Regions from separate parts of the Homo sapiens genome. Here region 2 is linked to region 1. Evidence: promoter capture Hi-C in human tissues and cell types (Jung and others, 2019). All regions are on one chromosome and are shown on one strand. Each heading gives the region's core, a stretch centred on a gene start or on the middle of the fragment in contact. The rest is flanking DNA. Distances are from core to core; before and after follow the strand shown.

Region 1 (6,416 bases), core at 3,494-5,993:
GGGCTCCAGCCCCACCCAGGCACTCACTCACACTTAATGATGCTGCAGTCTTTGGCAGCAGAGAAGATGGCTGAGTCATCGGGGGTGACGACCAAACATGTGATAGAGAGCTGGTGCCCCCGTAAAACGCGAATGTCAGCTGAGGCTGGGGCCTGGATCTGGGCAGACAGGGGCCAGGTCACTGTGGCTAGTGGCATAAAGGCACTACCTTCACCAACCCCACTGCGTAGTGTTGGCCTTTCCCACCCAGGCCAGAAGGAAAACAAGACCCAAGGCTACAACAACCAGATCCTTACCTGACCAGATAGGCCCAAGTGTCCACCATGTTCCAAGTGGGGCCCCCAATTCCCTCCAACCTTATACCAAAATACCATGCCCACTCACCTCTTTTGCCACCAACTTCTGCAGCCTGCCCCTCTGCTCAAGCTGCATGGAGAAGAGATGGATGAGACCCTGGGAGCAGATCAGCTCCACCCCCGTCCTCCCCCAACTCTCCCTCCACACTTACCACATCCTCCTTCAGGCGCCCCGCCACCTGGTCCTCCTCAAATGCACGGGCCTCAGCCTTCTCCTCCTCTGTGCAGGACAGACCAGACCAAGTAAACTGAGGCTGAGACCCCTCTTTCCCTTCCATCCTGTCCCCATCCCACTGCCCCAGGGCTGGATAATGCAGGAAGCTCCAGCTGCCTCAGCAGAGGGGAGGGCAAGCTGGAGGGTTTCCTCCTGCCTTTACTTATCAGATCAGCCCCCTGCGGGCTCCCCAGGAGGCCCATGAGAGCTTCTGGCCACCCCCACAGGGCAGCCAGCACTGACAGCCTGGGCACCCACTGGGAATCCATGTCAGTCACCCATCAAGTGGCTGGGGCTGCAGCGGCGGGCAGCAGACCAGCACAGGCAGAAGCCCTGCCCATGGCTGGCCTGCCCACTGGCTCACCTTGCTGACGGAGCTGCTCTAGGTAGAGCTTGGCCAAGCGCAGCTTCTTTTCCTGTGCAGTTTCCTCCAGCTCCTCCTCCTCCTCCTCCTCAGGCTTCCTTGGAGCTAGGCTGTGGGCAGGAAGGGGCTGGGTCTGAGGGGCTCACCTTGTTCCTCTGACCGCTAGGATCGTGCCTTCTGGATGCTCACCTTGCCATCCAACCTCCCCTATTCCCTGCTAGCCCACATGGTCGGTGACTACACTGCAGAAAACTGAAGGATGTGACTCCCCAAACTAAAAGGCCCCACTCAGTGCCCCACGTAGGGGTGGAAACAGACCCAAATCCCAAAGAGATCACTAAAGCCTCTCAACTCTGGGGGAAAGAGGAGGCTTCCAAGAGAAACCAGGCTTCCAAAAGAAATCAGGTCACATACAAAGAGTCAGGAATCAAAATGTGCAGGCATCTCAACAGCAATACTGAGAACAAGAAGACAAAGAAGCCTCACACACAAAGCTCTGGAGGAATACACTGACCCCTAAAATGCCATGCCCAGTCAAACAATCAACGACGACACTGCCAGGTGTGCAAGGTGCCATGGAATTTTCTCCCTCTTTTTCTTTAGGAAGGATAGAAGCTGTGCTCCCAAACAAGAGGGTAAACTGGGAAAGAGAAAGGCAAGGGATACCGGAAACCAGAGATGCGACACAAGAGAGCAGAAAGGGTGACACTATCCCCAGACATGACGGGGGCAGTCTGGATCAGATCCAAGGACCCACCAGGCAGACACACCAGGACTGTCATCACCACAGCACCATCCTTTACCCTGGGAACAAGGTTCCAAGCGAACCTTCACTGTTTGGGGATTGGCCTTTACTGGTGAAGTTACGGCTTTCCCCTCCATGCCCCAGCCCCCGGACCAGCTGAGAGTACTCACTTCACCCAAAGACAGGTGCTGCTTTGACCTGCTCCTGGGAGCTGGGGGTAGGTCATGGGCACTCAGACACAGAGAATCCAAGGCAGCCCACTCCCTCTGATCATGTGCCTGAAGACATCTAGTCTCTGTCCACTCCCCTAACCGTGTTTCCCAAGACTCACTCGTAAACCTGCCCCTGACTTCCCCAGAAGGGACCTTGAAAACTCTCAGGAAAGCCAAAGCTGGACCATGCCCCAGAAATAATTTAGTGCCCTGTGCCTGGCAAGCCTTCAGCCAACAGGGCTAGTGCTGCCCTTCCCTTACACAGCCAAGGGACCTGTGTTAACTTCGGACTTCTACTCAATTTAGCCAAACTAATTAATCTATTGTTGAAGGATTCATACGCATGAGACAGAACGCTAAAGAAATGCAAGGGAAGTACACACTATGATTCCATTTACAGGGCATGCTAGAAAATGCACAACTCTAGGGGCAGTGGTTAGCAGAGACTTGGGGGGAAGGAGAGGGGCTGACTACGAAGGAGCAGGAGGAGTTCTGGAGGGTGATGAAACTCTTTACCTTCAGGGTAGAGGTGGTCACACAACTGTGTGTGTTTGTCAAAACTCACTGAACTATAACTTTAAAAAGGGCATGTTACTATATGTAAATTATACCTAAATGGAAAATGTTAATTTTTTAAAAGAAGAACAAAGAAACCAAAGAAATGATTAACTCAAGTTAGGAATGACAGTTGCGGCTTCTAAGTTTCTGCAAATGTTCTAGTTCTTAACCTAAGTGGTAAGTAAGTGTACAGAGGTTTACCATTTTACCATTACTCTCTGTAGTGCAAATATATCTCATTCACTTTTCTGTATCTAACACACTTCACAACACAACATTCTAAAAATATTTAAAAGCACTTAGCCCACACTAGCCTGGCACACACTCACCCACAATAACCTTCGGATTAAGAAAAGTACATTAATGGCTGGGTGTGGTGGCTCACGCCTATAATCCCAGCACTCTGGGAGGCTAAGATGGGCGGATCACTTGAGGTCAGGAGTTCGAGACCAGCCTGGCCAACATGGTGAAACTCCATCTCTACTAAACATACATAATTAGCCAGGCATGGTGGTGCAGGCCTATAATCCCAGCTACTCAGGTGGCTGAGGCAGGAGAATCACTTGAACCTGGGAAGCAGAGGTTGCAGTGAGCCGAGATCGCACCACTGCACTCCAGCCTGGGCAACAGAGTGAGACTCTGTCTCAAAAACAAAAAAAAAAAGTACATTCTTTCCATGAGCAAATTAAGGCAACACATACTCAATTTTAGAAGCGAGTTCTAAAGTCAACTCATAGGGAAGGCACTAGGATTCTCTGGTCCAAGAGCCTCCAACCCACAGGGTCAGGCCTGACACCATGCCTGACCCTTTGAAAACCTGCAAGCAACCACACCCATCACCTGCAGAAATGAGGGAGGCATCCAAAGCCCTCTACAATCTACATGCACTTATGACCAGTCCTCCTGTTTTTGTGTGTGGTTTTTTTTTAGAGACAGGATCTTGCTGTCACCCAGACTGGAGAGCAGTGCATGATCATAGTTCACTGCAGCTTCAACTCCCTGGGAAGGGATCCCCAAACCTTAGCCTCCTGAGTAGTTGGGACTACAGGTGCACACCACCATACCCAGCTAACTTTTTTTTTTTGTACAGACAAGATCTCGCTATGTTGCCCAGGCTGGTCTCAAACTCCTGACATCAAGCAATCCTCCCGCCTTGGCCTCCCAAAGTGCTGGGATTAGAGGCATGAGTTACCAGGCCCAGCCCCCTTTCATCTTTTCTACTGCCCATTCTGGCACACTTACACCTCAGACTTTCCTCTGATCACTGAATGCCTTCCCTACCTCTCCGTGAGAGACTCCTCTTCATCTCTCAAGACCCTATTTAAATGTCCCTCCTCTGTTCCCAGAACACACAACTATAAAATACACACCTCACTACAACACACTCTCTTCACCCGCCTGCCTATCTCTGCACTTCCAACAGCAAAGGCAGTGCCTGGCATGTTAAGAGACGGGGAGCCCAGTAATTGTGAAATTGCAGGAAAACTGGCAAGGGAAGAAGGATGCAAGAAATACTTGACAGCTTTGTTCTGTTTTCCTGCAATTTCTCAATCAGTCCAGTCCCTGCCAAAACCTAAGGAGGTCTCAATGGCCTCGGATTGGGGCCCAGGGTCCTTCCCACCCAGAGACCTCGCAGAAACAAGACTTTGCAGGACCAGAAACTAAAGGAAACAGCCACGATCTCAGAGCCAAGGGACAGAGTCTTGGATTCTAGGCTCAGTTCTGTTCGGACTCACTCAGTCTTCCGTGCACCATGGGACTCAGTTTTCCCTCCCACTATGTGGAAAAGAATAGCTCACCTCTCGCTCTCAGAGTCGCTGGAGATCTCCTCATTCATCTTGCCGCCACCCTTGGATTTGCCCCTGTCCCCCGCAGAGTCGGCCTGGGAATTATACGGTCTTTTCTTTGGTCAGGGGTCCAGACCACCCTGGCATTGACCAAGGGCCCCCCCCCCTCGGTTCCCTCAGAACCCCAGGAATGGGGAAGGCGGTGGTTCCCGGGTTAAGCGAACGGCTTTCTAGGATTTGGCCCGCGGAGAGAGGGACGAAGCTGACTCCAGCAGGGGTCCAGGGCGAAGGGCTGGGGAAGGGCCGGGACCCAGGTCCCCTGGATGGGATGACGGTTGTCCCAGTAGCAGGGCTGACCGCGGCCCTCAGAAGCGCCATGCTCACCTTTCGCCGCCGCTTGCCGGCCCCCGCGCCAGCCCCGGCCCCAGAGGCCGGCTTTCCCCGCTTACGAGCAGCCGCTGTTGCCGACATGCTGCCCACCAGGCGTGTAGCAGCGGCCGCAGAACTCACGTGGCAGCTGAACCCTCCCAGCTCCCCAGCCGCCTGGCAAGACCCCGCGTATTGATAGGCTTCCACCGCCCGCCGGGCCCCGCCTCCTACTGCTCCATTGGGTCCTTCTGCAGGCTCTGCCACGCCCCCAGGCACCCATAGGATGCACGCTTGTAGCCCCGCCTCCTGAAGTTCCTAGGCTCCCGCACCAGGCTCGAGTAGGAAGCCCGCATCTCCACGGCGCTTCCGGCCTGATGCTGTGGCGCTTGCGCTCTGCTGCTGGCCCACTTCGAAGTCGGAGCAAGAGCCTTCTCTGTGTTTGCGCCCCTTGGCCGCTGGGGGGCGCCAGAGACGCGGCGCCCTTTCGCGTTCTGGAACGTGACTCCTCCCCTCCATGGGCAGCCCGGCGCTAGACCCAACGGGGATCCAAGCAGCCCCGGGGAGAGGGAGGCTGCGTCTGTATCCGGGCCCAAGGTCACCGCGCGACCGGCAGATGCGTGCTGCAGGCCCCGGCCACATGAGCAGCGCTACGGACGCGACTGCCCCGGCCTTGGATATGCCAGATCGAGTGTCCACCCGTCCGTGGGACTGGTCGCCTGACTCGGCCTGCCCCAGCCTCTGCTTCACCCCACTGGTGGCCAAATAGCCGATGTCTAATCCCCCACACAAGCTCATCCCCGGCCTCTGGCGATTGTTGGGAATTCTCTCCCTAATTCACGCCTGAGGCTCATGGAGAGTTGCTAGACCTGGGACTGCCCTGGGAGGCGCACACAACCAGGCCGGGTGGCAGCCAGGACCTCTCCCATGTCCCTGCTTTTCTTGGGTGAGTGTCCTATGGTCCTGCCCACGGCAGGGCAGGGCAAGGCCTGGTGGGACTGGCCTTTGCCCTCTATCAGTTCAAGGCCACTGATCCGGAGTTCTGGCTCCTCAGAACTCTTGAGTCCATTGGGAAGGGCTTCTACAGCTCTGGGTTCTAAGCTCCGGGAGGATAATCTGGCCCCAAGAATCCTGCCCCCAGGATCCTCTGCCCACCCTCCCCCATAGCTCGGTGACTCGGCCCGGCAACCATGCCAGGGCTGAACTAGCTGACACAGGGGGAGGAGCCCCGAAGTGGAAGAGAGAGAGCCTCCTTTCACTTTCCCTACCCCTCAGGACACACAGGTGAGCTGCAGAGGGTAGGGAGCCAGGCAGACCCTGTTGACCAGAGTGGGCAGACTGGACAGAGTCCTAACCTTGCACTTGGGACTGGGGAAAGGGGTGTTTCTGAGTGACAAAGAGCTGGGTGTGGTCTGGGGCTGGGAATGCCGTCAGAGTGGACACAGGATGCAGTGGGAGGCCACCGAAGGGCCAACCCGGGGTGGGGCAAGTTGGTGCTGTGCTGGCCCAGGGCAGGGGTGGGGACTGAGAGTGGGTCGTTGGGGATGAGGAGACCATGGAGGCCTAAGGGCCTCTCTGTGCCCCAGGACAGCCATGGCTCCAAAGCCGAAGCCCTGGGTACAGACTGAGGGCCCTGAGAAGAAGAAGGGCCGGCAGGCAGGAAGGGAGGAGGACCCCTTCCGCTCCACCGCTGAGGCCCTCAAGGCCATACCCGCAGAGAAGCGCATAATCCGCGTGGATCCAACATGTCCACTCAGCAGCAACCCCGGGACCCAGGTGAGCTGCAGTCCCCAGTCAGGCCCAGAGCCTGCCCA
Region 2 (6,543 bases), core at 942-3,441, 240 kb before region 1:
GCAGAGCTGCCTCCCGCCTGCCAACGAGGGGGCTGGCAGAACAGGTGGCACAGGGTGGCAGCCTGGTGCTGCCCAGCCTAGGGGAGAGGGTGGAAAGAGCAGTACTCCCTCTTATTATCTTGTTATGGCCAAGTTCCTCCAGAAGGGAAGCTAGGGAGGTGGCTTGAGTGTTGAGAGGGGTTGGGCTAGGGTCCCCATTGTCCCTGGAATCTCTGGGTGGACACAGGCTCTGTCCTCTGGGATCTTCCCCCAAAAGCCAAATGTCTGCTGCTCTTGTGATGGCCACTCAGCTACTACCCTTTGGGTCCTTTGTCCAGAGTGTGAGGATGTTGGTGAAGGCCATGCCCTGACTAGATTCAGGGATCCTTTTCTTTCATCTAGCTACTGGGGAAGGACCTGGACCTTCTTCAGGGGCCTCCCTGCCCCTGGCCTCAGTGACCTGGACCAGTTTGCTGAGTTGGGTTCAGGTTTGGCAGATGCCTGCCTCTAAGTGCTGGCATTGGAGGGGCCCCAGAGCCTGACAGCTCCTGCTTCCTGACACTGTGATCTTGTTTAGCCTCCTCCTGGAGACCAAGGCTGGAGTGGGTATGTGAGTGGGTAGAGAAGCAAAGACAGCCATCTGTGTGTTTAGAAATGGGACGTGTCAGGGGCATGGACTCTTGAGATGGAGGAAGCCCCGAGGGCACCCAGGTTGGCAAAGAAGATTTGACTCCAACTATTAAAAAATAATGACTTTCCTTCACCGACCTTGGAAGCATCAGGGCTAGGGTGTTCTACTTTGCTGTTGAGCACATGGAGACTTAGGATGGAAGGCTTTGCCTGGATCACCCATGGAGTCAGAGGCTGAGCCACAGCCAGACCTGGGACAGGCCATCCACCTCCCGCGTGGCCTCCTAGATGCACCCTCCCTTCAGCTGGCTGCTGAGGGTCCTAGCTAGGTAAACCTTTCAGGCTCACTCCTCTTTCCCTTTATCATCCGTGGGCTTGCTTTTAACCCTTCTTTGCTAGCTTGCTTTAGTTGAAGGAGGTTCCTCAACCCTAGGGTTGGCCAGGCAGGTGGACAAGTGGAGTCTTGGAGTGGCTTCTCCTTGCCAGGCAATAAGTCTCTCATTACTGCTAAGTGGAAGGCTCATTTCAGAGCTCATGGTGAGAGCGGGGCGAATGCTATAAATAGTCGTGTTGTGAAGATTGGCGGGTGAGCAGTGACAGGGCAGGGGCCTTGCAGTCATCATAGTGGGTATTTGTGCTCCTTCGCAGGAAAGGTGGCGGGGCAGGCTCTGAGTAAGAGGCAACTTGACCCCTGTTCTGGCTGTCCCTGCCTGCCTCAGGGTGGCTCTGGCATGTCTGTGCCCCTCCATACTCATTGGGGGATGGGGAGCACTGGATTCTGTGTCTAGGCAGAGGGAGGTGGAGTGCCTTTTGGAACTTGGGGCCCAAAAGGTGGTACATCAGCCCACTGGGTAATGTCCTGTGCTAGATCTACTTGTCCTACCTGACCTTCCAGTCCAGGGTCTCCCTCTTCCCCATCAGCTAAAACCTGAGTTTACATGTGAGGAGGTATGGGAACCATACCTGATAGTCTCAGAGGTTGACATAGCTCTAAACTAGCAGGGGAATGAATGGGAGTGGAAGTGGTGTTTAGCTGGCCTTGATCCTTGTTCAGGGTCTATAGTAGCATGTCTGCAAGAGCAGGGGCTGGAGGCCTAAGGACTGGGGGTGCTGGTCTTCTGATATCTGTGGGTCAGTCAGCGTTGTCCAGGGTGGAGAGGAGGTCAGGGCCAGGGGGTCCTGGGATGGAAAGTCTGGTAGGTGAGACCTTGGCTTAGGCACATGGGGTCCCTATCCTGGGGTGGTCCAGGGGTGCCAAGCTTCATGGCTCTGTGAGACCAGTGCCTTCTGGAACAGCTTTTTGGTCTCAGATGTACACATAGGAGAGCAGTGCCAGGCTCCTGGGTTCTTTTACCACCTGCCCTAGGGTGTCGTCCTGGGTCTTCAGACTATTATTGCACTCTGGACTATGGGGCCCTGCTGTTAGGGTGATCTATGTGTGCCTCCCTCAGCAGGGCTTTGGAACTTGGAAGAGGTTGAGAGGCAGAGCCAGCCCCTGGGACAGAATAGGTAATAGACAGTTCTGGGGGTCACCCAGGGACAAGTGAGTCAGGGGCCCTGTAGGGCTCATTCTACCTTTTGCCACTCTCTGACTAGGAGCGGAAGCTGTGTGCCTATCCTCGGCTGGAGATCTACCAGGAAGACCAGATCCATTTCATGTGCCCACTGGCACGGCAGGGAGACTTCTATGTGCCTGAGATGAAGGAGACAGAGTGGAAATGGCGGGGGCTTGTGGAGGCCATTGACACCCAGGTGGATGGCACAGGTACAGAAGGTGGGGTATGAGGATGGGGCCCTCCTGGAGCTCCTCTCTTCTGGACTCCAGGGGCTTGGTTGAGGAGGCTCCTCCCTCTCTGGGTTGGCACTGTGGGTGTCAGGCTATGCTTGGCAGAGGGAGGAAGGAGACCCACCTACCTGAGGACCCACATGTGGAGTTGCCTGTTCCCAGACACATGGATCTACATAGATGTGGATTCACACACATTACCTCCTGGCAACACAGATACAAAGACCCTGCCTGGATTCCCTCCAGATGCAGCAGGAGTACCCTTGGAAACAAAGATCACAGACAGCTCGATGTTCATGGGAGGGGGCTGAGGCTGCTCAGGAAAGGAGTCCCTTGGGTGGGGCTCAGCAGGAAGTAAGATTGGCATAGATCTGGAAGGTAAGGAGGGGAGCAAAGTGTTCTCTTGTCCCTCAGTACGGGCCCCACCCAGAGCCAGCTGCTTTCTCCCTGCCAGGGAACAACCAGGGAGCATGCAGAGGGGAGCCAGGAGATCAGTCACCTGTGCCTTTCTCCAGGGCCAGCCCACACTCCTGCTGGCAGCCTCAAGGCCCCAGGTCCAGGCTGGAAGGCTGCTTGCCTGCCCACCCCTCTGCAATGATCTGTGACCCCGGGCTGTCTCAGGCACAAGGGGGTCTGCTGGGTTACATCCCAGATGGTCCCAGGGGGCCTTATCCTTGGCCAACCTGGTGGAGTTTGTGACTTCTAGGAGTGGTACAGGGCTGTGGGGAGAGGAACTGTCCCTCCTCTCCTCCTTCTTTAGCAGATGCTCTGCCCATCCAGTCTTCAACAGCCAAGGTCACCCTAGGGAGACGTGTCAGCTAGGGCTGGGTAGGAGGGTATTGGGAGCAGTCTCTACTCCCTAGGGGCCTGTGTCCAACACAGTTAACTTCATCTGCCACTTAATTACCTCCATGGGGTACAGCTCCCTTCTGCCTGGTAGTGCCCGGCAGACACTCTTCAGTGCCCCTACTGTGGGCACAGGACATGGCACAAGGTCAGCAGGCCCAGGCAGCCTCCAGGGCAGGAAGACAGAGTGCCTTCACTTTACTGTGACCTCCCTCTGCTGCCTGCCTCCCCCTCCTTGACCCACCCACCCAGCTTCCTTCCCTCCCAAACACTGCCTGTCAGGGTCATTGAAGGACTGCTTGGCACCCACTACAGCTGGCTGTAGTGGCAGCTCCCACATTCCCCAGCTCCTCAGCCTGTTTTCCTCCCCTCCAGCCCGCCCACCCACTCCCTGGTGTTGGGGCCAAGGGGTCTGCCCACCTCTCACAGGGCCTGTCCTGACACCCCAGCGGGACTCGGTGTTTGCCCACCAGGTGCATGCCACTGACACAGCAGTTGGTGGTGGGTGCATGCAGGATGTCTGACTGCCCAAGGCTTGGCCTGTCCCTGCCCGCCTCCCTGCTGTGGCCCTAGCTTAGGCCGGGAGGTGAAAGGGGGTGATTAGCTGCCTTGTGCCTGTTATTACATTGATGTATTATTTAGCTTCAGAGAGGCGATGAATATTTGATCGTCTTGCACTGGCTGTGGGCAGAGCGAGAGGGAGGGATTTGGGTGAAGGGGGTGGGCTTCAAGTCCCCTGCCCCAGTAGTCGTGGGGATTTAGGTAGGGCCCTGCCTTGCCTGGTATCTTCTGCCCAGGGATGCAGGCATGGGACTCTGGGACCTCCTCCTGTGTAGATCTTGGTGGGGGTATAGGGATGCTACTTCCCCGTATTGCATTCCTTTTTTTTTTTTCTTCTGCGGCAAGGTCTGGCTCTATCGCCCAGGCTGGAGTGGTGCAGTGGCAAGATCTCGGCTCACTGTAACCTTTCCCTCCCAGGCTTAAGCTGTCCTCCCACCTCAGCCTCCTGAGTAGCTGTGACAAGAGGCGTGTACCACCATGCTTGGCTAGTTTTTGTATTTTTTATAGAGATGGTGTTTCGCCATATTGCCCAGGCTGGCCTTGAACTTGTTAGCTCAAGTGATCCTGCCTCAGCCTCCCAAAGTGTTGGGATTCTAGGGATGAGCCACCATGCCCAGCTGGATTCCTTTTTTTTGTTTGTTTGTTTTTAAAGACAGTTTTCCTTTTTTGCCCAGGCTGGAGTGAAATGGCATGATCTTGGCTCACTGCAACCTCCACCTCGTGGGTTCAAGCGATTCTCCTGCCTCAGCTTCCTGAGTAGCTGGGATTACAGGTGCCTGCCACCATGCCCGGCTAATTTTTGTATTTTTAGTAGAGATGGGGTTTTGCCATGTTGGCCAGGCTGGTCTGGAACTCCTGACCTCATGTGATCCACCTGCCTCAGCTTCCCAAAGTGCTGGGATTACAGGCGTGAGCCACCGTGCCTGGCCTCCAGCTGAATTCCTTTGCTTGAAGTGTATATATGTCTCCAGGGGCTGTCTTCATTTCAGCAGGCTGTCCTGGCCTGAAGGAGGCACCCCTAGGCTCCTTCCTCTGAACATTCCTAGCCTAGGAGCTGGGTGGTAGGAGGTAGCATGCTGGGAAGCAGGCACATTCCTATACCTGGGGTCCCAAGAGAGCCATTGGGTGGGTGGGCAGACAGAACATACAGTTTAATAGGGCCAGGGAGAAACTGTCTCCCTCCTTTGCTCTTTTCAGGCCTGCGGTCCCTGGGGCACTGATCATTATTTAAGGAGCAGTGAGGGCCTGGCATCCTGTCCCCTGGTCAGAAGAAACTACCCAAAACTTAAAGCTCCCCCAGCTCCCTGACCACCTCATTCACAGGCTTCTGTCCTGGGAGCCACACCTGGGGCCTCAGCAAGAGGAGGGCCCTGGGCCAGCAGCCTGGGCTTCTAGGGCTCACCTCACCTCTGCCAGTAGCGCCCAGAGGGCATATTCTGGGGGCTGAGTGGGTGGTGGGGGTAGGGAGAGACCCCAAATTCCCCCCTCTCCTAATTCTCCCACCCCCAACCTAGGCCCCATTTGAGGCTCAAGGAAAGCCCCAGGCTGAGTCCAGGCGCCAAGCAGACCCCAGCTGCACCTGGCTTGGCTCCAACACCATGGAGACAGTGGCTGGGGAAGCTGGCTAACCCCTCACCTTCTGTGATGTTTGACAGCTGACCCTCTCCCCATCATACAGGAAGGGTAGCAGATCCACTTTCTCCCAGTCTGGATTCCTGCACACAGCGAGCCTGAGCCATGTGTTCCTCCTTGCCACCCCAGCCTGCATTCAGTGCCTCTGATCCAGGGAGATGAACCCAGGGGTTGCTCCTGGACAGGGCAGATGAAGGGGCTGCTTGCTTGGAGGATGTATTGGGGGTGGAAGGAGCAGGTTAGAAGGAGTTTGGGCCATCAACCTGGCTCAGCACTGGTTTGGGGCACCCCAACCACCAGCAGAGTGCTCTCATCATCCCCTTTTGCTATCTTGTGGCTCAGGAAGCACCAGTCATTGGGGGTGGGGTGGGTAAGGGTTTCTCAGGGTCGACCCAGGCATAGGGAGAGAAAACCCTTAACATGTTTCATCCCAGCACCCTCCTCCTTGCAGCTGGTTGAGTATTTCTCAGGCCTTCTCCATCCTCCTCGTACTTCAGCTCCCTCCTCAACTGGGACTTGGTGTGTACCAGAGGCAGGGGCCTGCTGACTCCCTGGATGCTGCTCCTGGGAGCCCTGCACGGGGGAGGGCTGCAGAGGGGCCTCCTGCTGCATTCTGCAGTCCTCGTGCCCTGTGGGTGATGTTCTGTAGCTGGCCCTGGACACATCTCTTTCCAAGCTTGAAGTGGGGGTGGGGGAAGGTGGAGAGGACACTACTTGTGTCTCTTTGTTCTACCTCAGCTCCTCACCTCAGGGCTGAGTGGCCCTTAATAAATGTGGGGGGAGGGCAGCAGGCTTTGTGGAAGTGCAGGGAGCTGAGGCTAATTTAGAGTGGGGAGAAGAGTGCACAGCTGCCTCCTCCCACCCTCTCTCCCTCCCTCCCTCCTTCCCTCCCTCCCTTCCTCCCAGCTCTTTCCCTCTGCCCTGTCTGTGCAGCCCCAGTCAGGGTAGAGGGCAGAGGGCAGCTGGAGCAAGCCCCCTGAGCCCGGGAGGCTGCATTATTCATGAGTGCACTGCGTGCTGAGTTGCCTCTCCCTGGAGGAGGGGGTGGGGTGGTCCTAGCTAACCTGTGCTCCCTTTTCCTGGTCATAGGAGCTGACACAATGAGTGAC

Evidence for each region. Contacts are between HindIII fragments. The study calls those that stand out against the background at their distance.
Region 2: a fragment that was not itself captured here is called in contact with the fragment with the promoter of RRP9 in region 1 in 1 of the 25 tissues and cell types used here (dorsolateral prefrontal cortex).

What each region holds. Positions count from the first base shown.
Region 1 is chr3:51,937,161-51,943,576 of GRCh38, forward strand. It overlaps RRP9 (ribosomal RNA processing 9, U3 small nucleolar RNA binding protein), which reads right to left and starts at 4,744. Exons shown (of 15, transcript NM_004704.5): 1 at 4,621-4,744; 2 at 4,249-4,331; 3 at 935-1,044; 4 at 509-576; 5 at 385-426; 6 at 32-158. The coding sequence starts at 4,707. It overlaps PARP3 (poly(ADP-ribose) polymerase family member 3), which reads left to right and starts at 5,203. Exons shown (of 11, transcript NM_001003931.4): 1 at 5,203-5,548; 2 at 6,194-6,378. The coding sequence starts at 6,196. RefSeq lists enhancers at 4,106-4,754, 4,879-5,208. The HindIII fragment of the contact is 37,282 bases long and covers 1-6,416 here.
Region 2 is chr3:51,697,201-51,703,743 of GRCh38, forward strand. It overlaps TEX264 (testis expressed 264, ER-phagy receptor), which reads left to right. Exons shown (of 5, transcript NM_015926.6): 4 at 2,206-2,374; 5 at 6,524-6,543. Among named protein-coding and RNA genes, the nearest start is that of GRM2, 6.6 kb to the right of the region's middle. The HindIII fragment of the contact is 8,284 bases long and covers 1-6,333 here.